Regions from separate parts of the Homo sapiens genome. Here regions 1, 2, 3, 4, 6 and 7 are each linked to region 5. Evidence: promoter capture Hi-C in 16 types of primary human blood cells and fetal thymus (Javierre and others, 2016). All regions are on one chromosome and are shown on one strand. Each heading gives the region's core, a stretch centred on a gene start or on the middle of the fragment in contact. The rest is flanking DNA. Distances are from core to core; before and after follow the strand shown.

Region 1 (3,891 bases), core at 1,278-3,777, 2.6 Mb after region 5:
CCCTTTGAGTCACCTAGACCACAAGGTTTGAGCTACCTCTTAAAGAGCATTACTATTAACTTCTAAAGTGCTTTTAGAAATGCTAATTAATTATCATGGGAAATTATTCAAATTAATATGTGTAATTTTAAACGACCTACACGGAGCCATTTCTTTGTCTTAACCCAAAGAGCTTGAAACATCTCTTCTATCATAATTAAAGGACTAGCAGACTGATGAGGCTAAGGGATCGCCTTCCTAAAACCGAGTCTGCGGGATGAGTGGCCATTAGAATCAGGTCTTTCCAAAGACTTCTATCCATCTCCCTGCAAGAGCTAAAGTGCTAATGCGCCTCCACCCCCGGGGTTCGTTTTCAATGCTCTGAGTTAAACCCGGGCCCCCACTGGCTGAGATTACTTAGGCACTGAATGAGCCCCGCAGTAGGTAGCCGAGATGCCGATGTCCAGCTCCCGCCGGGCGCGCTCAATCACGCGCAGCATCTTGAGCTCGGTCTCCAGGTCGAGGCCATATCCACTCTTGCACTCCACCAGCGTGGTGCCAGCCCTCATCATGCACTGGAGCCGTTGCTGCAAGGAGCGGAACAGCTCCTCCTCTGTGGCTTGGCGCGTGCGCTCCACGGTAAAGTGGATCCCTCCTCCGGCCTGGTGAATTTCCATGTAGGTGGCTCCTGCCAACTGAACACACGCCTCACCTTTAGGCCAGCACATGCCAGGAAGTTGCAGGGAGGTCTGAAGAATCTACTTCCAGGGGCAATATTATATAATGATTAAGAAGCCATATGGCATGGGCACCAACCCATCAGATTAGAAAGGTGCTGGGATACACAGTCCTGGAAGCCCCTAGTCTGCCAGACACTGGATTGTGGGGAGCTCCGAAGGGGTCTTGGGAAGAGACTGGAGTGGTAGAGATGGGAGATGTGGTGGGTGGCCTGTTGGGATCTTAGGGCAGTGAGGCCTGGCGCGGTGGCTCACGCCTGTAATCCCAATACTTTGGGAGGCCTAGGTGGGCAGATCACGAGGTCAGGAGTTCAAGAACAGCCTGACCAATATGGTGAAACCCCATCTCTACTAAAAATACAAAAATTAGCGGGGGCATGGTGGCACACGCCTGTAGCCCCAGCTACTCTGGAGGCTGAGACAGGAGAATCACTTGAACCCGGGAGGCGGAGGTTGCAGGGAGCTGAGATCGCACCACTGCACTCCAGCCTGGGTGACAGAGCGAGACTCTATCTCAAAAAACAAACAAACAAACAAAACAAAACAAAACTGGCACAGGAGTATTGCAATATTTTAACAAGTCAATCAACCCGCAATGTGTACTTGCTAAGTATCAGCCCTCCCTCCATCCCTCAGCTTGTTTGAGAAAACAAAGCTTAGGCAATTCAGGAGTTGCAGGGAACCCCATTGCAATTATTCAGATCTCCACTAAAGCGGCCCCAGGAAGTTTCCTTGTCTCAATATTTGGCCATCCGAGTTTGGAGCTTGATCTTTGTCACTCAAAGAGGCTCTTTCTAGGGTCCCACTGGGCTCCAGTTACTCTGGGCAGCAAGGAGTGTGGTGCAGAGAAAGGATGCAGGCCTGGGGTCTCCTGGCCGGAGTTTTCATCTGGGTTCTGCCATCCTCCAGCTGGTGACGCTAGTCAACACTCTTCCCTTCTCTAGACCCAGCTTTCTCCATCTACATAATGAGAGGATTGGACTGTAAATCTCTTTCTCCGTCTATACAATGAGAGGATTGGACTGCTTTTGGCTCTGAAATTCTGTGATTTAATAAAACAATCTTAAAAACAGCTCTAGTTTGTTGAAGCAGGTACATGATAGCTGAAGAAAAGAATTTTTTTTTTCTTTTCCTGAAATAAGCCAGTTTAGCTGCTAGGAGGCACATCTTTTTTTTTCTTTTTTAAAAAACACATGTGAAAATCTCTCCAACCAGGGATTTAGGAGTTGGTTACAGCTAATATAGGACTAACACAGCTTACATTTTGTGATTCTTAATAAGTCTCAGTTTATAACAGAAAAATTAAGGTATTTTATTTTTGTGATTAGTAACATATTTTTCCAAGCTTTACTCCAATGAATGGCAATTTTCAAACTATTCCTTGGAGCCCTTTCAAAAGCTACTAGAGATAGCGATTTGGAATGGGAATGTGGGGAAGGAAAGAGAGGGAGACATTAGTGGGCAGGAATAGCCCTGTGTATAATACAATGATTTGGGGCAGTTATAAATAAGTTTTGTTGTCATTTGTTTCCCATACCCAAGCAAGTAAAAATATCCATTAAAAAATATGTTGACATATGTTGCAAAGCTTGATAGCCTACTAACTCTTCAGCAAAAGACTTCATATTTGTGCTTTATTTTGATTTGCCATGATTTGTTGCAGTTACCTTCATTGCAAATTCGTGAACTCTTTCACCAGCCCATACTGGATGTGTGTGTGCATCCACCAAACCTATAATCAATAAATCAAGTTATCTTACAATTAAGAAATAGAGAGCACTTAGACAGCAGGCAAACAGCAGCACTATACCCTGCTGCTCTGGGGAAAGTGTGATGGTGGCCATCCATTTTGGAGGAGCATGAAAGGAAGAATTTGTCTGTCTGGTTCCCTTGATAGAGAGAAAAGAAGACTGCCCTGTTGTATGGTTGGTCTAGAAAGCTCTAATGAAGGAGGTGATGCAACATGATGAAAATATCCCTTACAGAAATACAGCTCCTTTTGCTCAGTAAGTCCATGCTCACCAAATAAGCTTTTATTTTATTTTATTTTATTTTATTTTATTTTATTTATTTTTGAGAAAGGTTCTCACTCTGTCGCCCAGGCTGGAGTGCAGTGGCACACTCACAGCTCCCTACAGCCTTGACCTCCCAGGCTCAAGCAATCCTCCCACCTCAGCCTCCCTAGTAGCTGGGACTATAGTCATGCACCACCACACAAGCTAAAATTTGCCATGTTGCCCAGGTTGGTCTTGAACTCCTGGGCTTAAACGATCTGCCTGCCTCAGCCTCCAATGATCTGCCTGACTCAGCCTCCCAAAGTGCTGGGATTACAAGCATCAGCCACTACTCCTGGCCCAAATAAGCTTTGAAATTAGGTTGTCAAGCCCCCTAGTTGGCAAAACCATGAACCTTATCACAAGGAATAATCTGGATATGAAAACAATACTACAATCCCCTCCCCCTGCAACTCTGAGAAGGGAAAATGTGAAATCAGAAAGATTAATCTATTTTCAAGAAAGAAATGTATTTTAATTAAGGAGAAACTGTAAAGCAATCACTTGAAACTTTTGTTTATCCAGGTACAATTCAGTAAAGTGTGTCTTTCCAAAATGTTTTAGATACCTTATGGATTAAATGACTCATTATTGGCTCTGATTGGACTAAAATCAAAAGCGCCTACTCAGATTGCTTTCTGCTATATTCCTCTTTTTCATAACATTTCACCCTGACTTTGTCTCCTGACTCTCAAGAATCATAAGGAAGGCCGGGCGTGGTGGCTCATGCCTATAATACCAGCACTTTGGGAGACCGAGATCAGCAGATCGCTTGAGATCAGGAGTTTGAGACCAGCCTGACCAACATGGTGAAACCCTGTTGCTACTAAAAATACAAAAATTAGCCAGGCATGATGGTGCATGCCTGTAATCCAGCTACTTAGGAGACTGAGGCAAAAGAATTGCTTGAACCTGGGAGGTGGAGGTTGCAGTGAGCCAAGATCACACCACTGCCCTCCAGCCTTGGTGACACAGTGAGACTGTCTCAAAATAAACAAACAAATGAAAACCCATCAGTTAGAAGCTCTGTCAGATGTGTACAATAAATATTTAAAAGTATAAAAATTTTATATAAAAAAATATAAATATGAAGCCCTTTTGTTTGTGTAGAACTGAAAGTT
Region 2 (3,733 bases), core at 1,186-3,685, 2.7 Mb after region 5:
TTGAGTGGCTGAGGTGGGAAGATTGCTTGAGCCTGGGTGGTCAAAGCTGCAGTGAGCCAAGATCACCCCACTGCACTCCAGCCTGGGTGACAGAGCAAGACCTTGTCTCAAAAACAAAACAAAACAAAAATCACCACATGGACTTTTATATTCTGTACTAAAAAAATAGAAGGAACTAGAAGGCAGATGTCAAAGTTGTGTTTGGGGATCTAAACAGGCCTCTTTGATTACAGTTAGATGTGGTACCCTTGGGCTGGCTCCCAGGAATGCATCACTGGCATGGCAGAGTTGAAACTGCTTTCTCCCATGGTCTTCCTATTGGAGGAGAAGCTGGTAGCTTTTGTGACTGCAGACAACCCAGTTTCCCAATTCCCAGAAAGTACTGGAGGGTAATACACTGTAGGTAATACCAGATGCACCTGCTCTTTGGAGGAATATGCAGCTATTTTTTATTTGTAGGGCAGAGCCCTTTTGGAACAACACTGACCCTCTTCATAGAAGTAAGGGAGGGAAATTAGTCTCCCCTCTAATTATCCCTGAAAATAAAACTCCTTCAAGAAATAAAGTCCATTGCTCCAAGATTTAGGCGTACTATTATTTCTAATACAAATGTTCACTTGCTGTGTATAAGACTGTTGAAATTACTAAAAATGTGGAATCATGTTTTTACACCTCTGTCTTCAATGCCCCTAGTATGCTTTGTCAACCAAAAGAAACACAATCAAAAAGTTTGAAAAAGACATAGCAATGAGGGAACGGCAACTAAAAAAAGCAGAGAAAAAGCTCCAAGATGATGCACTGGCCTTTGAAGAGTTCCTTCGAGAAAATGACCAGAGATCTGTAGACGCTCTGAAAATGTTTGTTTCATCACTCTGGCCAAATCCTTCCCACCTCTTTTGTTTGTTTGTTTGTTTGTTTGTTTCTAAGAAGCAAATTAACAGATCTTCATTGCTTTTCAGGGCAGCACAGGAAACAATAAACAAACTCCAAATGACAGCAGAGCTGAAGAAAGCAAGCATGGAGGTACAAGCAGTGAAAAGGTGAGGGTGGGCACAATCTTCTCGTGGCCAAATTTCCACGACCCATTAAAACCTATTCATGCCAGGTAAGACCTAATAATCCTGATCATCCTTATCAGTTGATGATGTCATAAGTATGAACGAATTTTAAAAAATAAGTAACCTGTCCATCAAGATTTGTTCCTGCCTGGGTATCAGGACAGTATGTGGCTTCCGGTTGGAAAGTCTCTCTAACTTGTAGATACAGAAGCAAAGAAGTTAGATGAAGCAAAACAATTAGGAATAAACAATAAATTATTATCTAAGTGCCCTTCCTCATTCATTCATTTTTTTCTTTTTATATTTTTAGTTTAGTCTGGTTGCACTTTTGCATTCATTCTGAGACATTTTTTCCCCCACATTTTAACATCTCTGAAATTGGGACTCATTCTACGATCATCTTACAGTCATCATGGGCAGTATTTTTTATATTTACGCTTACATAGTGGAAACTAGTATTGCTATTAAAAACTAAGATCTGCTGGGCACACTGCTTGCCTCTCAGCTCCTTTGGAAGCTGAGGCGGGAGGATCGCTTGAGCCCAGGAGTTCAAGTGAAGTCTTAGCAACACAGTGGGACCCCATCTTTAGTAAAAATAAATAAAAATAAAAAACTAAGATCTATAAAGAGAAAAAAGCATTGGAGCAGGAGTTGGGATAAAATTGTACCATCTGCCACTCTTTTTCAAACTTGGATGTTTCCTTCTATGGTCAAGGAAACTCACTTGAACTAATTTTTTTTTTTTTTTTTTTTTTTGAGAGGGAGTTTCACTTTTGTTGCCCAAGCTGGAGTGCAATGGCATGATCTCGGCTCACTGAAACCTCCACCTCCTAGGTTCAAGCGATTCTCCTGCCTCAGCCACTTGAGTAGCTGGGATTACAGGTGCCCACCTCCACGCTTGGCTCATTTTTTGTATTTTTGGTAGAAATGGGGTTTCACCACGTTAGCCAAGCTAGTCTCAAACTCCTGACCTCAGACAATCCACCCACCTCAGCCTCCCAAAGTGCTGGGATTACAGGCGTGAGTCACCGCGCCCGGCCTAACTAATTTTAAGTAGCTAAAGAAGCTTCCTTCTGTCATCATTTTTGGACAGTAATTTCATGATTCAGAATACACTGTAGTGTTGGTATCAGGTCAATGCTAAAACTTACTTTTCCTTTTTGAGAACTTGATGCTTACCTCCCCTCTAGAACTAGGTCCTAGGCTTCTTACATCCTTCAGACAAGCGAGTCTGAAATAAAGCAGAGTTGGTTTCTCTGAAACCAACTGCACTAACAGAATGTGCATTTCATATTCTGGCTACAGCAGGCTCTTCTATTTTAGGAGCCTAAAGCTGAAGCTGCTCCAAGATGGAGAATTTCCTTCTCTCTTTCACCCCCGATGCAATTAGAAGTTTCTATCCATTTATAGATTATTTCTAGAGCTAGAGTAGCAGCCTCTATTTTTGTGCAAAGTATTGCATTTATGCACAATAGCCGCCGAGTTGAGCCCTCCAAATGGTCTTGCTGAAGATAACTTGATCGTTGATGTATCACATCATCTAGAAAGGTGCAGGAGATCATGAAAAACAAGCCTGTAGTGGAGCAAGGGCAGCAGGTGCTCTTCTCTCTTTATGGCTCGAGATGGCCCCAGGAGGCCTCCTCTACGGGTAGGGCTGGAAAGGGAAGGGGGCATCTTCTGAAGCTTTTGCTTGGAAACTGTATCTTTCCAGCCAATTGTCACCTCGTGTTCTTTGTAGCATATCTGGGAGGATTTCAATCTAAAACGGAGGCAGCAGTAGAATGAAGGTCTCCCATCAATCTTCCAACTGGTGATACGTGAAGCAGCCATTTACTGACCCTTGAATATCACTCTTGCACCAGGGCTGAAGGAAGGCTCTGACAGATAGAAGTATTAAAGCTGAAAACATTGATACAAAGTAATATTGATATCTTTCAGATAAAGGTTTGGAAGCTCCCTTTCAAGTGGGCCTTCTTTTGTTATTTTAACATCCCTCTTTGTCCACTTTGTAATGTAATTACTATAACGCAATGTGAAGCTGGGCAAAAGCTTTTGGTCCAAGTCACTCAATATTGGCAAGAGCTTGGGCATCTGAGTCAGATGGACCTAGGTTTGAGTGCTGGCTCTACCATTTACATCTCCTTTCCAAGATAAGAATAATAGTACCTATTTTAAAGTGCTGTCCTGAGGATCAGCCTATGTCTGTAGTGTGTCCTGCCTGTAGTAATAGGTCCTCATTAAGTGTTAGTTTCTTTCTTTTCCTTACAAATGTACCATCTTTTGCTACTTTCTTTTTTTTTTTTTTTTTTTTGAGACAGAGTCTTGTTCTGTCGCCCAGGCTGGAGTGCAGTGACGTGATCTCAGCTCACTGCAACCTCTACCTCCCAGGTTCAAGTGATTCTCCTGCCTCAGCCTCTTGAGTAGCTGGGATTACAGGCATGCGCCACCACGCCTGGCTAATTTTTGTATTCTTAGTAGAGACAGGGTTTCACCATGTTGGCCAAGCTGGTCTTGAACCCTTGACCTCATGATCTGCCCTCCTTGGCCTCCCAAAGTCCTGGGATTACAGGGGTGAGCCACCATGCCCGGCTTTTTTTTTTTTTTTTTTTTTTCGAGACAGAGTTTTGCTCTTGTTGCCCAGGCTAGAGTGCAATGGCACGATCTCGGCCCACTGC
Region 3 (3,577 bases), core at 302-2,801, 2.7 Mb after region 5:
AGAAAAGCTTTCTCCTTTTCCCACTTATTTATATCAGTATGGACTCATAGATTCTATTTTATTTAGTGGGTTAATCATGTCATGATTACTTATTTTGATGCTCTTTATTTTAAGGACTCATGAATTTCTATTTTATTACATGAATTTATAATCTGTTACTATTGTTATTTCTCTGCCTTAATTGTCACATATTTGGACAGGGGGATCCCCCATTAAGCTGTCTTCTGTGTTCTTTTGACATGTCATCCTCATTCTTTGAGCATTTCCTTATTTTCTGTCCCAATAAGATGTTCCCTGTCCCAAACCTGGAATCAGTCAATTCTCCAAAAAACACTGCTTCGTTTTAGTGGAGAATGGCATTTAGGAAACTAAAGATTGGTCTAGACAATAGGCACGCTCCTTGGTAGGGGGGTGTTGGTGCTTCCAGTCCCTCTCACTGGACAAAACTAGAGAACGTATGCATGTGTATACATACATACATGCATGCATATATGACCATATCCATACTTGTTTCAATATCGCTATTGAAAATTCCAGTTCAACACCACATGGCTTATTTTAGTTTTTTCAGTTTCCATATTTGTAGTCCCTTCCCCAACAGTTAGAAAACTGTCTCCCTTCATCCTCAATTTGTTTACTTATCTGATCAATCCCCTCCATGTAACCAAACTTCCATCACCACTACCATCCCCCCTCCCACCCAACCCAGCAAGACAGCCTTGCCTGACTCTAACAGCATGAACTGGGCCACCACTCCAGAGCGCGCTGACCTCCCCATTCCCACTTTGCTCAGCCCCACCTCATACTTTTAGACAGGATTATTCAGAAATGAAGGATAGACAGAAGCAAACTATAAATCCCCTTTAAACTGATGTTTATAATAAAAACTAATACAAAAGAAAAAATATAGAGGGAAAGAATTTTAATTTTTTCTGGACACCCTCCAATTGTTTCAGTATACCAGTATTCCAAGTAAATAAAAAAAAAATTTAGTCAAGCTTTATTATGTGATACTATTTTAATGTGAAAATTGTGAGGAAGGGCTATTCTTCTTATTCTTTTCCAGTTTCCTTTTCTCTTTCCATTTCTTTTTTTTTTTTTTTTTTTGAGACAGAGTCTTGCTCTGTTGCCCAGGCTGGACTGCAATGGTGCGATTTCAGCTCACTGCAAACTTTGCCTCCTGGGTTCAAGAGATTCTCCTGCCTCAGCCTCCCAGGTAGCTGGGATTACAGTCATGCATCACCACACCTGGCTAATTTTTGTATTTTTAGTTGAGACAGGGTTTCAACATGTTGGCTAGGCTGGTCTCGAACTCCTGACCTCAGATGATCCGCCTGCCTTGGCTTCCAAAGTGCTAGGATTACAAGCATGAGCCACCATGCCTAGCCTTCCATTTCTATTCTATCTCTTCTATTTCATGGGTGGCCGAAATAAGAGCAAAGGAATTATATCACAAATTGATCTAATAAAATACACAATGCTAGAAAAATCATTTGAGAAGTGTGTGACTGAAGGTAAAAAAAAATCTCTTATAAAAAATCATATAGTCAATATTTTAAGAGAAGTTCATAAATATGGTGATTAACTCTTAGGAAAGAACCTATTATTTATCAGTATATTAAAGTCTTACTGAAGTAAAGTAAACAGGATAGACTGGTAGATTTTAAGGCAAATTAAAGCAAAAAGATTAAGGATGAGAGAGGGAGCTGTTATTTATGGAAGGAGACTTAGTTAGGATTGAGGAAAGGAACTATAATTTATAGAGGGTAATTAGGTTGGGATTATGCTCAGCTATGATTAACAAAGACCCAAATTAAGGATGATTTAAACCAGTTGAATCATACAGTTTGGATATATGTCCCCCTAAATCTTATGCTGAAATGTAATCCCCAAAGTTGGAGATGGGGCTTAGTGAGAGGTGTTTGGGTCACGAGGGCAGATCCTTTATGGCTTGATGCTGTCCTCATGATATTGAGTGAGTTCCTGCGAGATCTGGTTGTTTAAAAGTGTGTGGCACCTCCAGGTCCTCTCTCTCTTGCTCCCCTTCCTGCCATGTGAGACGCCGCCATTCCCTCTTTGCCTTTTGCCATGGTTGGAAGCTTCCTGAGGCCTCCCCAGAAGCTGATGCCGGCGCTATGCTTTTTGTACAGCCTGCAGAACTGTGAGCCAATTAAACATCTTTTCTTATAAATTACCCAGCCTCAGATATATCTCTGTAGTAACACAAGAAGTGCCTAACAAAAAGAAAGTTTATTGACCTCTTTTGTAAAGGTGAATAGTTCAATACTGGGGTGACGCTTTGCTGCTTGAAATCTTCAGAGACCCTGACTGCCCCTAGCTTTTGATCTGCCCTCTTAGGCTATGACCCTCATCTTCATCATCCCAGATGGAGCTCTAACTACCACATACGTAGTCGAAGGGTTAAATGGAGGAAGGAGGGAAAAAAGGGCAAGCACCAGCTATCTTTAAAGGAAATTTTCTGGAAGTGGCTGCACAATTCTTTTCCTCATAGCATGTTGACCAGAACCTGGTCACACGGCCACACTGGCTGCAAGGGAGGATGGAAAAGGATTCTTACAGTCCCAGTGGCCCTATGCCCTGCTGAGAATCAGGGGTTCTAACACCAGTAGGCTGTTTGGGGTAGGCAACCATTGATCTCTATTGCCAGAGGGTCTACTGGATGTTGTCTATTTCCTTATCATAAAATGGGTTAAATTGGCCTGGTGCATGGCACATGCCTGTAATCCCAACACTTTGGGAGGCTGAGGCAGGCAGATGACTTGAGGTCACGAGTTTGAGACCAGCCTGGACAACATGGTGAAACCCCATCTCTACAAAAATACAAAAATTAGCCAGGTGTGGTGGCACATGCCTGTAATCCCAGCTCCTTGGGAGGCTGAGGAAGAAGAACTGCTTGAACCCGGGAGGCAGAGGTTGTGAGCCGAGATCACGCCACTGTACTCCAGCCTGGGTGACAGAGTGAGTCACATAGAGTGAGACTCTATCTCAAAAATAAATAAATAAATAAATAATTTTTAAAATGGGTTAAATATTATTAACAGGGTTAAACAAGGTAACAACAGCTAATACTTATACTTCTTATATTCCAGGGATTTCAGGTGAAAAACCTGTTTATAATTATCTTATACTTTTTAACATAATTTTTTTTGCTCTTAACACTGCATTTTTCAAAAATACAATTATCATGTAAATTCAGAGAAGACTATGCTTGCTTTTGTTTAGAGTTTTACTAACAGTTTTCACTATTTCAGAAAAGTATTGACAATGCTGCAAGCTGCACTTGAATCACCAAGATAACATCCATGGCTCTGTTTACAGGTTCAAACAGTTGACTACTTTGTGAGGTTTTCTAGTGTAAAAGTACTTGAGCGTTTGCATATTTTTATGATCAATTATTTTACATTTATCTCTGCTTGATGCTACAGTTTAGGCATTATATTTATTTTAAAATTACATGTGTACGTAGGTTGTATTCTGTATGAATTTCACTTGATAGTACAGAACAGAACTGCTGCTAGCATATAAGGTGCCTCTGTACAAATAAGAGGCCCCCTCT
Region 4 (3,827 bases), core at 546-3,045, 2.7 Mb before region 5:
CTTTCTCAAGAGGTCTGTCCAAGGGGGAGAAAAAGGGAAAAGTTCAAACTGGCATTCAATGGTTTGTTTCAGAGAACAGCAAGGAATGGCTAACATATTTTAATCAGCATGTTATCTCTTTCAAAATTAAACATAGCTTATTTTCTTACCTAATATGAGGTAACACCACGAGGGCTGCCCAAGATTGTGAAAGGTAAGTAGTATCTTTATTTGGGGGTAACTTAATTATAGATAAAAGATGGTCCAATACTGGAAACTGTTCGTTTCTTCCCTTGGATCTAGTCTTCTTCTGCTTTATATAGAATCTGAAGGATTAAAAAAAATGTTTAAAATAACAGAGAATGTAATCGCTCTTGCCCTCTGAAGTCTGAAATAAAATTGGATTCTTACCATTGTGGAGCATTAGAGGGAAGGAATTGGTGGTGGTGGTTGAGCTAAACAAATGTGAGTCATTTACTGAGTTTTCAGTGAGAAGCTTTTTCAACTCCACTGGCTCTACTTCCTTTCACTTCTATTTTAATTTGCTTTATAACTTAAACCAAGTTTCTTCTAGTTTTAAGTATGATTTCTCAATTTTGTGCTCCTGGGCATGTTTTTGATTGACAATTCACTGGAATGAACTGACTTCCTCCATTCTCCCTTTCCTTTTTGACATGAATTTTACTACTTTCCACAAATGTAGAATGATGTTGCAAAGTTACTGTGATGAAGTTGACGAATACCACTAAAATGATTATGACATATAAGTAATTTTCTCCTGCTGCTTTGATCAGATACACAGTTGCTCAATGACATTTTTCGACATGACATTCTGTTTTGAATATCTGTGACTCTGGTCACAGATTAGATAGAGGCTAACTATTCTTGTTAGCCTCTTTTTATTTTTGCCAATGTACTACACCTCGGTCCTATTTGAAAGACAAAAATCTAATCAAAAGAAAAATCACAGAAATCTTAAGTTAAATGATCTGTTTTACAATTATCCTCCAACTCCAGTTTGGTTAGCTTGTTATGCAATAGAAGTGGAATATCAGGTTTTTACTCTTGCACCCTTTTTATCATTAAAATTCACCAAAAAATGGTCAGGTAGGGGAAGGAAGGAAAAAAAAAAACAAAAACAAAGAAAAAAAATTCTCCAAAAAGCTACATTCTCTTTTGTTTCATACTTACCAGGATGTTTAGTGTCTGGAAATCATGATAGATAACTAAGTTAATTTAATTATCAATTCCTTAAAGTCACCACATCTTGATATATATAGTCTTTTTAGTAATAATCATGACTCAACAATCTGCAAAAATCTTACAAAATACTAAGATGCTTTAAAAAACAAAAATGAGTCATTAGTTGCCACGTCATTCCCGTTTTCTAGACCTGCCAATGGCTCCACCAATGAAGTCCATACTCCTTAAGTCATCCTGTAAGGCCCTCTGTGATTTGACCCTCACCCACCTCCATCTCCTCTCACCCCAATCTCCTCCTTGCTCTTTACCCACAGAGGTTTTCTTTCTGTACTTCAAACATGCTGAGCTTATTCCTGTCCCAGAGTCTTTGCAGTTAACTTTTCCTTCTGTCTGGAGAGTCTCTCACTGAGATCTTTGCAAGGCTGGATCCTTCCCAGCTTAAAATTGGACCAAACGTTCCCTCTCTGGAAAGTGACCCCTCTCCATTCAGTCTCCCTCTCAACACTGCTTTGTCTTCTTTTATCACGATCAGGATCTGAAATCATCTCGCTTATTTGCTTACCCGCCTCACCACATTCCTTTCCCCAAAAGAAGGAACTTTTTTCTTATTCTTTGTTGCACCCCAGTATCCAGTGCCTGATACCGTAAGTAGTTGTCAAACGACAGTAAGTTTATCTCCTAAAGAGTCTTTTCACATTTATTATCTTTATTTTTTCTCACAGCAAACTGGTGAGATGGGTAGATAGAGTGTTACTAGTAATATTCAAACTATGATTTTAAAATCTTCATAGAAGGAATCAAAACAAAGGTGACCATTCACACATACCATATCTCCGTTGGGGGTGGCAGAGGGGTGTTTTTGCAGAGAAAGAAACACAGAAGTGGAAGAACTTGCCATGAGTTAGCACATCGAAATTTATTTATTTAACACGTCACCCTCCTGGGAGGATCTGAGATGGCTGAGATGATGGGGTAAGAAGGTCTGACGCCCAGTCTCAGTCAGTCCCTTAGCTTCACCTCATGGAAGCCAAACAACAAAGCAGCTTCACTCTCCCTGCACAGAACTCAGTTTTGGCATGTGCAAGGAATCTGCCTGTTGGAGATGGGCTTGGGTGTTGACAAATCAAGGGAAAAGTTTCAAAGGAATAATTCTATTGGAGTTACTCACTACCCATTCCTCAGGAATCAGAATTCAATACATTTAAAAACCAACAAGATTCTGTTGGCATATTTTAATAGAGAAGCAATTTGTAAGGTATACAGAAGATATAAGTAGGTGTTAAGATGAGTTTGCTAAACACAGTGGCTCAACCTGTAACCCCAACACTTTGAGAGGCCAAGGTAGGAAGATCACTTGAGTCCAGGAGTTTGAGACCAGCCTGGGCAACATAGCGAGACCTCGTCTCTACAAAAATTAAAAAATTAGCTGGGCATGGTGGTGCGTGCCTATGGTTCCAGCTACCTGGGAGGCTCAAGTGAGAGGATAGCTTGGGCCCTGGAGATCGAGGCTGCAGTGAGCCGTGATTGTGCCACTGCACTCCGGCCTGGGTGACAGAGCAAGACCTGCTCTTAAAATAATAATAATAATAAATAAAACATTTAAAAAAGAAAATAGGTTCCTCCAGAACCTCAAGCTGATCAAACTCAAAAGCTAGCTCTGCTCTGTGACTGTGGGACAGTAACTCCCACCTCCATGGATGTTTCAAAGTCGAGTATTCAGCACAAACTCAAGGAATGCCCATCAATTCCGCCTCAAAGCAAACCAAAAACACAACAACGGGTCTAACTACTCCAAGAGAAATAAGAAGATTAAGTATAAAAACAAAGGAATGACAAGGGAACTGGTTTCCTAAGCTACAGTTTCTAGAAGCATACCCACTTAACTATTTGAGAAATGATACAATAAATCTTCTCATGTATGTAAATAAGCTTTGTTTTTAACTTCTAAACAATGTGTCATTTTGAATGAAATTAAGAAAGTAATCCATGACACTTAACAACTGAAACAATACAAAGGTATATAATTTTTATTTTTATTTTATTTTATTTTATTTTTTGAGATAGAGTCTTGCTCTGTCGCCCAGGCTGGAGTGCAGTGGCATGATTTCGGCTCACTGCAACCTCTACCTCCTGGGTTCACGCCATTCTCCTGCCTCAGCCTCCTCAGTACCTAGGACTACAGGCGCCCGCTACCACACCCACCTAATTTTTTGTATTTTTCTTTTTTTTTTTTTGAGATGAAGTCTCGCTCTGTCGTGCAGGCTGGAGGGCAGTGGCGTGATCTCGGCTCACTGCAAGCTCCACCTCCCGGGTTCACGCCATTCTCCTGCCTCAGCCTCCCGAGTAACTAGGACTACAGGCGTCCGCCACCACGCCTGGCTAATTTTTTGTATTTTTAATAGAGACAGGGTTTCACCGTGTTAGCCAGGATGGTCTCGATCTCCTGACCTCGTGATCTGCCCTCCTCGGCCTCCCAAAGTGCTGGGATTACAGGCGTGAGCCACCGCGCCTGGCCAGGAGTGTGGTTATTAAAAGGTAGCATGAGGAATCCTCGTGGTGAGGGAACAGTTCCAGATATTCACTCTGGTGGTGGTTACAAATCAACACAGGATAAAACTACATATGACTATATATCTATATAAGTA
Region 5 (3,744 bases), core at 239-2,738:
CAATTAAAGTCAAACTTCAAATTATTAACCACTGGTAAGAGCACACTTCAGAGTACAAACGAAACTCAGAAAGATCACTCGACATGTAAAAGGCTTGCAAACAACTTCAAAGTTTATCCCAGCCACTAACCAATACTATCCCCACTTAAGAACTCCTGTAACATAAAAACGGATACGCACAAATTCCTGCAGTCAAATACATTTAATACACAAATAATGTTAGCTTTAACTTTTAAACTGAACGACAGATAGTGTAAATAAGGACTCTATCCATACTAAAGACAACAGAAGCACATGAATGATTTAAAGAAAAAAATCTTTCGATTTTACAGGCACAAGGTAGATAACATTCTTAGGACTCCTACAATTCGGTTTTCAGGTTTCTCTGTATGTACATACTTCACTAGGATTTAAAACACACACAACTAAGTTAAAGCTGGGCCCAACCACCAAGAATCCCAAGAGATAATCACACCAAAGGGACGCCCACCAATTATCTCCTTTCTATTGCCTATGTAGGGCTGCAAGCTGCCTCCTCCAGTCGCACGAAAACAGGACATCTAGTTATCTCATATACAATTAAGTGCAAAAATGACTGACCTGGCGTCGACAAATATAAAACTTAGGAAAGGACTATTTTTAAGAAAACTAAGGGCAAATCAAAGGACAGGTAATATAGTTAGTAGAACTGTGGGTGGTCAGTAGTTTCGGGAGGAGAGTTTACCCAGTACTTAGTTTGCTGACCAAGCGAGCTCACGGCGGAGAAAGAGCTAGTCACGGCCTCTCTTCCCTCGGGCACACGGAGGTCACGAAGGGACACAGGGCCTCAGCGCTTCCACGCCCTTGAGGGAAGGCCAAGGATCTGACACCCGCCTATGGTGGAAAAGGCCGATACCCCAGGGCAAGCAACTGGGCGCCGTCCTACGGTGCAGCGGGCTGGACTCGTCCTTCCCTGTCCTCCAAGCCGGGTCCAGGCCTCAAAGGCTGGGCGGCCCACAAGTAGACCACACGACTGTATTGGGCAGGGTCTGATCTCACCTTCCACGGCGGCGGCTGCCAGGTTGCGAGGGCGGCGGGGCTGGCCCGTGGGCCCTGGGGAGCTGCTGCGGAGGTCCCCGAGACCATCGTGCACCAGCTGCAGATGTGGCGTGTTGAAGGGGTTCGCCCGCGCCAGGTGCGCCACGGACGAGAACATCTTTCTAGGGGAGGAGGGAGCGACGGTTAGAGGACAGGCAAGGCGCCGGTTAACGTTACCGGCGCCCTGGAACCCCAACCGGGGCCTTTTCCTTCCCGTCTCCACGCCCTTGAAGAGGTCACGGCGGCCTTCGAAAGAGGCTGCTCCCGGCTGGGCCCACCGCCAAAGCAGCGGCCCCACAGGAGCTCTGGGCTCCGCTCCCCACACCCGCCACAGGAGAAGGCCCGGCCACACTCACTCCCTAAGATGGCGATCACACAACCACTCCCTTGGAAAGGTTGCGGCTCACAGAGGCCGGACGTCCTCCGGGTCCTAAGATGTGTGCCCTTCGCGCGTCGTCGGCGTGACGCACACAGCGCGCCACTGCAAGTACGCGTCGCCCATTGGTGGAGAAGAGCGCCGAGCCCGTAGCGTCATCGCGTTCTCCTAGCAACCTTATTCCCGCCCCTGCCCGCCCCAGCTCTTCCGCCCGGCTTGTGCGCGGGAGGATTCGTTCTGCGCAGGCGCGCGTTCCGGGTCTATATTTTTTGAGAGGGGTCGGGCTCGAGCTCTTACCCTGCTCGCTTTGTCCCTTCACCTTCAGGTGTCTCTCCTTGACCACGGGCTTCAGTTCGCTTCACTTAAGTGAATCACAGTATCTAGTAGTCACTTAAAAAACAAAACAAAACGCGAATGCTTGATAATATATTTAGGTGTTGGAGTTACAACATCACTGCAGTACTTTGTGTCACAACTTCTGCCATTACAGTACTTTTTAAAATAAGTTCCATCCATTGACATTAAACATAGGTATGTCTGTATTTTTCATCAGACTCCTGGAGAATATTTTAAAAAGAAATGTGCAGCAAGAAGTCTTACGACAGCTTGCCGCGTTATCACAGTAATCTACAGAACACGTTGAAACATTGAACTCCTGAGATGTTACAGCGATGAACTACTGAAAGTGACTGATAGCAGATTGTGCGTGTGTGTGGTTAATACATTTAGGAAGCTTTCATTAGATTCAGCTCAACAGGGAGGGGCGTAGTTTAGTTGGGGAGAGTTTAATAGGGATTCAACCTGTTAGACTTCTGACTCTTATATTTTCCAAGCTCTTGACAAAGTAACCTTGGGAATTTACTTCATCTCTGTGTACCTGTTCCCTAGATGTAAGATAGGGGTGGGACTGGCCTCATAGGTTCACACTGGTACAGTCACACATGGCCTTACACTTCATTTAATGCTCTGCTGTCATTTTGATTTTTTTTTTTTTTCTTTTGAGATGGAGTCTTGCTCTGTCGCCCAGGCTGGAGTGCAGTGGGGCGATCTCAGCTCACCGCAACCTCCGCCTCCCGGGTTCAAGCGATTCTCCTGTCTCAGCCCCCGGAGTAGCTGGGACTACAGGCGTGCACAACCACGCCCGGCTAAGTTTTCTATTTTTAGTAGAGACAGAGTTTCGTCACGTTGGCCAGTCTGGTCTCGAACTCCTGAGCTCAGGTGATCCGCCCACCTCGGCCTCCCAATGTGCTGGGATTACAGGCCTGAGCCACCATGCCCGGCTTGAAATTCTTAATACATGTATGAACAAGGGGCCACGCTTTTTTTAGTTTGCACTGGACCCTGCAAATCAGGTGTCTGGTTCTGGATGGGAGTAATACTTACCTTGCAGAGTCTATGAGAACTCAATGAGATAATGTCTAAAAGTCTACAGAAGATGTTACCTAAAAAAAGTTAGCATTGGCCGGGCGAGGTGGCTCACGCCTGTAATCCCAGCACTTTGGGAGGCCGAGGCGGGCAGATCACGGGGTCAGGAGATCGAGACCATCCTGGCTAACACGGTGAAACCCCGTCTCTACTAAAAATACAAAAAATTAGCCGGGCGAGGTGGCGGGCGCCTGTAGTCCCAGCTACTGAGGAGACTGAGGCAGGAGAATGGCGTGAACCCAGGAGGCAGAGCTTGCAGTGAGCCGAGATCATGCCACTGCACTCCAGCCTGGGCGACAGAGCAAGACTCCGTCTCAAAAAAAAAAAAAAACAAAAAAACAAAAGTTAGCATTGAGGCTGCGGCATCACGGCACTCTCTAAGCAACCCTATCCCAGACCCAGCCCTTCTGGCCCAACTAAAGTCCTACAGTCCCAGGAAGAATTCCAGAGTGGAGGGCACAGGAAGGGAAGTAGTGACAGATAAAGTTAAAAAAGTACACTAGCACCTGATTGTCCAGGGCCTCACATACCAGACTGAGGAGTCTGATCTTATGTAGACAGAGGTAGTCACTGAAGGGTCTGGACTTTCTCTCTCTCTTTTTTGGTTAATTCAACTTTATGGTGCTTTTCTAATTTAAAAATCCTTTGTCATGAAAAAGTCAAATATTATGTAAAAATATATGACTGTAGTGAATCTTCCTATTCCCTTCCCCCAGCACCGGGTAATACCGTGACCCTTTGCTGCACATTTTTTCAGCTGGAACAGCTGGTACCCTTCACCATGGGGCTGCACATGCTCGTGGCCCAGAACTCACAGAAGTTGATCTAGAAGATACAGTGGTAACTGAAGGAGCTGCAGGCCCAGC
Region 6 (3,909 bases), core at 561-3,060, 2.7 Mb after region 5:
TCTTCTCAGCTCAGCATCAGAGTGATTCATTGAATGGTTCCATTTCACTGAGAAAATGGCCTCCAGGGCCCTCGTGATCTTGGACTTCTTGTCTCTCTGGCTTCATCTGGGGTGCTGTCCCCTTTGTTCACTGTGTTTAAGGCCCACTGGTGTCCTTACTGTTCCTGAAACACACCAGGCACATTCCTCCCTCAGAGTGCACCTCTCCATGTGCTTACACTCCCATAGCACATACTATGCAACTGAGGCCATCCAAAGGCTGGACGTGGTAACTTACCTAACAATCCCACAAGGTAGATACTATTTGCATCATTCCTCTTGAAAGATGGGGAAATTGAAGTGTGAGGATTAAGGGACATAGAGAGAGTCTATGTTCTTAATCATTTAGCTTATGCGACCTCTAAAATGGATGGCTGGCAGTTATACACCACCATTTTACATTCCTGATATTTCTGAGCTTTTGATCTTTTTCATCTATTGGAAGTTGGATGTGAACGTGTATTTAAGATGTGAACTTTCAGGCATTTGCTATGCAATCCAATAACATTTTCCCTCTCTTTTGGTACAGAGCCTTTGTTTAGCCATCATGCTATTTTTATTTCGCACAACAAAGACATCCACTGACTTCAACATTTTTTCTGATTGGAAAGGGGACTTTATAATCCCTTCCTAACAATAACTGGTTCTGTTCCTCTCCCTCCCTTTTGTTCACCAACCTTTCATTCATCAATACAGGAATTCATGCATATGGAAGTATAGAAGTATAACAACATCTGGAGACTGCTGATTGCATTTACATGTTATATGAACTATATAATAGAGACAGAATAAGAGCAGATATCTGCTCTTAGCAATTGGTTTAAAGGAACAGAACTTCCAGTTTTTCTGTGAGTGAAAAAGTCCTTGAACCCATGGATAAAGATGCTCATTGCAAAAAGACTTTAAGGATAAAGGGAATGAGAGTGGGAAGGAGAGTGAATTTAGATAGATAGAAGGACCAAAGGAGTGAAAATGTGACAAGAAAGAGGTGATCAGAATCCTAAGAGTGGAGATGAGTACAGAGTGTAAAATTGAGAAAATCTACAAATCTTTAGTATTAGCCATCCAAATTCCAAATACTCATCAACCACAGGTTGTCACCAATTTTTCACCGATCTTTCTTTTCCCCCGTGAGAATGAATTTAATGCCTGTGAAAAAATGTTCAGTCATTTGAAAAAGTATAATGTCAATGTTATAGTTTTTATTCATTTTTTTCTCTTTTATAAGCTTTGACATAATTTTTTAAATATTTGTTTTTATAACCACTGGAACTAAAATCAGATGCTAATTAGTAAATATTAGCACATAATAGTTCCCACTTACTGAGCTGGTCTGTAAGCCAGGCACCCCACTTGGTTAAATCCATTGCCCACTGAATCCTCAAGAAAGCCTTAAGAGGTGTGTCCACTTTATGAAACAGGAAGCAGAGGCTCAGAGATGCTGAGTAATTAAGATGTAGGCTCCATGAAGACAATAGTTTTTGTTCTTTTTTGTCTTTTTAAAAATTGCCCTGTCCCCCACACGTAGAACAGTGCCTGACACATAGTAGGTACTCAATAAATGTTTTTTGAATGATACATGAACTTGCTCACACATAAGTAAATACCAAACCAAGATTCAAAAATCAGGCTTGTCCAAAGTCTGTGTTCTTAATCATCTGCTGCTCTGCTTCCGGGATATTTAGCTCTTATATATGGCTCTTTGAGATTCCTGAGGCACATATTTAAATGAGTAGCCCAAAATAGAATGTGTTGTCCATTGTTTCTGCTGCGGGCACATTTTTAAATATAAACTCCTGGGTGTCCTTTATCCCCAAAATGAATATATCTTTATTATTTTTCTCATTGTAACAGTTACACCAGCTCACTGAGAAATTTGAATGATACTCAAAGTATAGAAATCAGAACAAGGATTAGGGTAAGGCCAGTGAAGCTCTAGCTTCATGCATAAAATTTAAGGGGAAAGCAAAAACTCAGTAATCAAAATAAGCAATATTTTAATTCACTATTTTAAATATATAAATTAATGTAAAAAATTCATGATAAATGAAATAACAGAATTTTAAATAGAGACAAGTTCTGTGGGCCAGGATTTGGGTGAGTAGAGTGAGGCACTGGCTCTCAGGGTCACACAAGTACAGGGTCAGAGACTGTCCGTATTTACAATTTTGATATTTTGTTCATTATAGAATTTCCTGCATTTATTTGGAATTTTATAAAAATATATTGCATTAACATTTAATTTATCATAATAACTGAAAGTTGATTTTTTTGTTTTGTTTTTGTTTGTTTATTTTGGCAATCCTTAAGCTTTGCAGCTAAGATTGAGTGCCTCAATCACCTAACCCTAATCCCAAACCTGGTAAAAATGAGAGACTGCACCAAATCACATGTAATCAAGATTCATGTTTGATGAATGGCATTTCAAACACCTCTCAGATTTTTGCATGCATTTTTTAATCCACACTATCCCTACTCTTTTGAAATGTTTTGTTTTTTAACCAATACCATGGAGAGAGGTAAATAGTGACTACAGCATCATTTTAAGGGCCAACTGGAATTTATTTTATGGATATACCATAGTTATTTGGTCAACTCTGTATTTATGAAATGACATTGAACAAACATTATTGCACATGCTTTTTTGGCTGCTTGTCTGATTATTTTCTTGACATAAGATACCAGAATTGAAATTGCTGGGTCAAAGAGTATGTGTGTGCTCACTGCTTTTAAAAGCCATAAGGACTGTTAAGGAGTCATTGGCAGTTGAATTTAGCCCTTTTATATGATGTTCATAGAATTTTTAAAAAACGTATTTTTTTTTCTTTCAACAGGGCCAGGCAAGAAAATGTCCTCAAATTTATTGCCAACACTGAATTCTGGAGGTAAAAAGAAATCAATCAATATATTCTTGTTTGGGCCTGGCAGTGTTAGGCTCCATAACAGATTGTGAGCATAAGAAAAGGAGAATGTTACACCATAAATATAAAATGTAATGAGTTTATAAACTACCTGCAGAGAAGATTCTGTTCTACTTTTTAATTCAAAAAAAAAATCTTCAAATCAGAGGGTGCATTAAATTGTCATATTTAGCCAGATTGCCCCAGTCTCTCATGACAGAAAACAAGTAACTCAATTATTTGTCATAGTCAAGGACATACCTAACTAAACTTTATGAAAATCTGCCCTCTTCTTTCCTTTCCCACCCTTTCTCATCTTATCCTTCTGCCTATTTTTTATTTTTATTTATTTTATTTTATTTAATTAATTACTTTTTTTGAGATGGAATTTCGTTCTTGTTGCCCAAGCTGGAGTGCATTGGCGCAATCTTGGTTCACTGCAAACTCCGCCTCCTGGGTTCAAGTGATTCTCCTTCCTCAGCCTCCCAAGTAGCTGGGATTAGAGGCATGCACCACCACGCCCAGCTAATTTTGTGTTTTTAGTAGAGACAAGGTTTCACCATGTTGGCCAGGCTGGTCTCAAACTCCTGACCTCAGGTGATCCACCCACCTCGGCCTCCCAAAGACCTGGGATTACAGGCATGAGCTATCATGCCCAGCCTCCTTCTGCTTATTTATGAGCATACAAGGAATTAGTATTTATTGGTATATAAGGAATTACAATTTTCTCTTACAAATCTGACAAAAATTTAACATTTGGATAACACTAAGAGTTTGTAATAGGTAACAGGCACTCAGGCTCTCTATAGGCATTCTCTTTAAAGGAACATTTGACACTATTTGTATTTACAATGTAAAAGTTTGGCTGCAAGAGACAGAAAATATAAAACAACTGTGGCTTAAACATGATAGACGTTTGTTCTCTCTCAGGTTAAGTCTGGATACAAGCATTCCATATGGAGGTTCACAT
Region 7 (3,373 bases), core at 806-3,305, 2.7 Mb after region 5:
ACTTTACCTACAGTTATTTTGGTGAATTATTTCTAATTTTATATCAAAATGTTTAGCTTTCCTTCTACATATAGGTAACAAGCTCTACTTGTAATTAAAAGAAAAATCACAATCAATGCCACTTGGGACTCAGAGAAGGAACTAAGGAGTGATGGGAGAGAGGGAGGTTTCCTTCACAATTAGGCACGTGGAAAAGGAAAAGAAAAATAGGGCTTAACAATAAGGATTAAAATAGGATGTTTCATAAGGCATGAAAAACATGGTAATGAACACTACTACTGGATGTTACTCCCTTTCTTATAGACAACAAAAAGTAATCTCCATTATCCAGATGATATAGTTTTGTCTGAAATATACGAGGTTGTTGAGACAGTTTGTATGTAACAGCTATAAGAAATAATGTATTAAGAGCAACTAATTTTTTGTAAAAAGTAATTACAACATTTAACATTTCTAAATTACACAATAATGTTCCAAATACTTTCTATCATGTTCTTCACCATCACTTAACAGGCTCTCTATGGCCGCCATTTTAACCTAACTTTCTGTCATTCGTCCCTTAACTCAATCTGCTCTGGCCTTTTTGCTGTGCCTTGAACACACCAAGCATGCTTCTGCCACAGGGCCTTTGTACTTGCTGTTCCCTCAAACTGGGATGCTTTTCCCCAGATACTCAACTGAGTTGTACACTAATTCTGGTATCTTCCAGAATTCGCCTCCTCAGAGAGGCTACTCTATATAATATTGCACATACTGTCTTCCCCCTTTTCTTCATGGATGGCATCTATCATGCCTATTATCACATTATATTACCACCTCCCACCACTAAACCATAAACTGTTGAGGGCAGGGACTTTGTTTTGTTCAATGCTATATTCACAGTGCCAGGCACATAATGGAATTCAATAAATATTTGCTGAGTGAACAAATTCAAACACTGGTATCAATATGGTTGACTACTCAAAGTGGTTGGTTACTCAGACATTTTGCAACTCTAGCAGGGTCACTAGCAAGCTATATTAATTCTAAAACAAATATTAAGTGGTAATTCTTTTATTATTGAGATGTTAATTTCCATAGCATAAAATTCACCCTTTTAAAGTGTACAATTCAGTGGTTTTCAGTATATTCAAAAACCTGTGCAACTATCACCACTACTTCCAGAATATTTTCATCACAATTCATATACTTCCCAGATTTTTCTATGGTCTTGGTAAATGACTCCTGTTTAAGGAATTTTCCACACTCAAACTATGCTTTGGGGGCCTTAATGTCATGTGCTCAGGTGGTAATTGCCTAAGTTAAGGAAAATCATAGCTCTCTGCCTACTTAAGTACTCCTTTTAGTACTCTGCTTACAAGTATGGAATCCTTGGATTCATGATTGGATTGACCACCTGTCTTGATAGCCTTTAAAAACCTGCCTGGAAACTACTACCATTAAAAAAACAACAAAAAATCCCAAACTAATTTTTTAAATGTGCAAAAGACATGAACAGGCATTTCTCCAAAGATAAACAAATGGCCAATAAACACATGAAAAGGTGCTCAACATCATTAGCCAAATGCAAATCAAAACCACAATAAGATACCACTTCACACCCATTAGAATAACTATTTTATAAACACCCATAGAAAATAACAAGTGTTGGTGAGGATGTGGAGAAACTGGAACCGTTGTGCATTGCTGGTGGGTATGTAAAACCACGTAGCTGCTGTGGAAAATAGTGTGACAGTTACTCAAAAGAAAAAAAAAAATTTCTCTGTCATCCAGGCTAGAGTGCAGTGATCACAGCTCACTGCAGCTTCAACCTCCCCAGGCTCAGGTAATCCTCCCAACTCAGCTTCCTGAGTAGCTGGGAATATAGCTGCCCACACCATCATGCCTAGCTAGTTTTTGTATTTTTTTTGTAGAGATGCAGTTTCACTATGTTGCCCAGGCTGGTCTCAAACTCCTGGGCTCAAGCAATCTGCTGCCTCAGCCTCCCAAAGTGCTGGGATTACAGGCATGAGCCACCACGCTTGGCCTCCTTAAAAAATTAAACATAGAATTACCAGTAATCCAGTAATTCCACTTCTGGGTATATACCCCAAAGAGCTGAAAGCAGTGACTGGAACAGACATTCGTATACCCATGTTCACAGCAGCATTATTTACTACAGTCCAAAGAGGGAAGCAACCCAGTGTCCACCAAGAGGCAAATGGATTAGAATGTGGTATATCCATATAATGGAATATTATTCAGTCATAAAAAGGAAATTCTGACACATGCTACAACATGGATGAACCTTGAATAATACACTACGTTAAGTCAAACAAGCCAGACACAAAAGGATAATACACAATTCCACTTACATGAGGTATTATGCACGGTCAAATTCATAGACATGTAGACTAGTGGTTACCAGGGGTTAGTTAGGTGGAGGAAGGAATGGAAAATTATTGTTTAATGTTTAATTGTAAAATTATTGTTTAATGGAAAATTATTGTTTAATGGGCAAAAAATTTCACTTTTGGATGGTAAACAAGTTCCAGAAATGGACAACGGTGATGGCTGCAGAACAATGTGAAGGTACTTAATGCCACTGAATTATACACTTAAAAATGGTTAGAGTGGCAAAATTGTAATGTATATTTTACCACAATAAAAAGATAATTAATTACAAAAAAACCCACCAAAACACATGGCTGAATCATTTACAGAAACTCGTTTGACAGACATACAGTCAGTTCAATTCCTTTGGCAGATCTGTCTTTCCCCTGAAGGAATGAATTTCCTCAATAGCTTTGGTGTTGTGCCTTTAGCATTCATTAAAAGACTCAATAATTTCACTTGAAAACTTTCTTTCAGGGCTAAATGATGAGAAATGTTTTGTTTTCTCCAGCAAAGTAGTGTGTTTCCCTTATGGTATTATTATGAATCAAGTGTCTGAGCTCTTCCTACTTTAACTACTAGGAATAAAATCTGTAGCTGAATTCTGGTTTAAGTCCATGTCTTGTACCTAGTATATCACAGTATCCCTCCTGGCTTTGACTTTATTTTTGAATTTTGCCGTATATTTGTCAATTTAATTGTATGTATTCTTATTAGTCAGACTAAACCTTTGAGAAATAAGGTGAAGCAAAATAAATGCAATGTTATGACCTTTACAGCTCTTTAGCTTACCTGCATGTTCATGTAGCCATCTACAGATACCAGATAGCCCTTGTACTCCATTCCCCACTTAAGTTTCACCATCACTGGCTTTCCTGTTAGTCCATTGAGGAAAGGTTTGGGATTGAGGGGTAAACTCTGCACAAAGAACAAAAAAGGATCTAATTAATTATTTTTCCTCCCACCACCAACTCTCTTCTACCGAATCACCAATATTTTG

The links. The method cuts DNA at HindIII sites, captures the fragments that hold promoters and counts their contacts. A CHiCAGO score of 5 or more calls a contact.
Region 1: a contact is called between a fragment that was not itself captured here and the fragment with the promoter of SLC25A3 in region 5, in 7 of 17 cell types (non-activated CD4 T cells, total CD4 T cells, M0 macrophages and 4 more). The highest score is 18.1, in non-activated CD4 T cells.
Region 2: a contact is called between a fragment that was not itself captured here and the fragment with the promoter of SLC25A3 in region 5, in 1 of 17 cell types (activated CD4 T cells). The highest score is 10.1, in activated CD4 T cells.
Region 3: a fragment that was not itself captured here is called in contact with the fragment with the promoter of SLC25A3 in region 5 in 1 of 17 cell types (activated CD4 T cells); the score reaches 5.9 in activated CD4 T cells.
Region 4: a contact is called between a fragment that was not itself captured here and the fragment with the promoter of SLC25A3 in region 5, in 2 of 17 cell types (activated CD4 T cells and total CD4 T cells). The highest score is 10.1, in activated CD4 T cells.
Region 6: a fragment that was not itself captured here is called in contact with the fragment with the promoter of SLC25A3 in region 5 in 7 of 17 cell types (total CD4 T cells, non-activated CD4 T cells, naive CD8 T cells and 4 more); the score reaches 15.1 in total CD4 T cells.
Region 7: a fragment that was not itself captured here is called in contact with the fragment with the promoter of SLC25A3 in region 5 in 9 of 17 cell types (total CD4 T cells, naive CD8 T cells, non-activated CD4 T cells and 6 more); the score reaches 24.7 in total CD4 T cells.

The regions. Positions count from the first base shown.
Region 1 is chr12:95,953,468-95,957,358 of GRCh38, reverse strand. AMDHD1 (amidohydrolase domain containing 1) reads right to left here. Exons shown (of 9, transcript NM_152435.3): 3 at 2,384-2,448; 4 at 397-674. Among named protein-coding and RNA genes, the nearest start is that of AMDHD1, 12 kb to the right of the region's middle. RefSeq lists enhancers at 1-495, 496-1,009. The HindIII fragment of the contact is 442 bases long and covers 2,307-2,748 here.
Region 2 is chr12:95,895,692-95,899,424 of GRCh38, reverse strand. CCDC38 (coiled-coil domain containing 38) reads left to right here. Exons shown (of 16, transcript NM_182496.3): 6 at 694-857; 7 at 960-1,040. Among named protein-coding and RNA genes, the nearest start is that of SNRPF, 39 kb to the right of the region's middle. The HindIII fragment of the contact is 617 bases long and covers 2,127-2,743 here.
Region 3 is chr12:95,844,265-95,847,841 of GRCh38, reverse strand. All of the region lies in intron 1 of SNRPF-DT (SNRPF divergent transcript), which reads left to right. Among named protein-coding and RNA genes, the nearest start is that of SNRPF-DT, 13 kb to the left of the region's middle. The HindIII fragment of the contact is 1,101 bases long and covers 1,001-2,101 here.
Region 4 is chr12:101,296,160-101,299,986 of GRCh38, reverse strand. It overlaps UTP20 (UTP20 small subunit processome component), which reads right to left. Exons shown (of 62, transcript NM_014503.3): 13 at 150-305; 14 at 1-14. Among named protein-coding and RNA genes, the nearest start is that of UTP20, 18 kb to the right of the region's middle. RefSeq lists an enhancer at 1-675. The HindIII fragment of the contact is 2,636 bases long and covers 478-3,113 here.
Region 5 is chr12:98,591,430-98,595,173 of GRCh38, reverse strand. It overlaps SLC25A3 (solute carrier family 25 member 3), which reads right to left and starts at 1,488. Exons shown (of 8, transcript NM_002635.4): 1 at 1,434-1,488; 2 at 1,039-1,199. The coding sequence starts at 1,195. RefSeq lists enhancers at 449-1,073, 1,397-1,496, 1,074-1,698, 1,747-1,966. The HindIII fragment of the contact is 3,126 bases long and covers 1-2,188 here.
Region 6 is chr12:95,935,488-95,939,396 of GRCh38, reverse strand. CCDC38 (coiled-coil domain containing 38) reads left to right here. Exons shown (of 16, transcript NM_182496.3): 2 at 2,874-2,924. The coding sequence starts at 2,888. Among named protein-coding and RNA genes, the nearest start is that of CCDC38, 5.2 kb to the left of the region's middle. The HindIII fragment of the contact is 1,082 bases long and covers 1,270-2,351 here.
Region 7 is chr12:95,861,086-95,864,458 of GRCh38, reverse strand. It overlaps SNRPF (small nuclear ribonucleoprotein polypeptide F), which reads right to left. Exons shown (of 4, transcript NM_003095.5): 2 at 3,166-3,291. Among named protein-coding and RNA genes, the nearest start is that of SNRPF, 3.8 kb to the right of the region's middle. The HindIII fragment of the contact is 5,419 bases long and covers 1-3,373 here.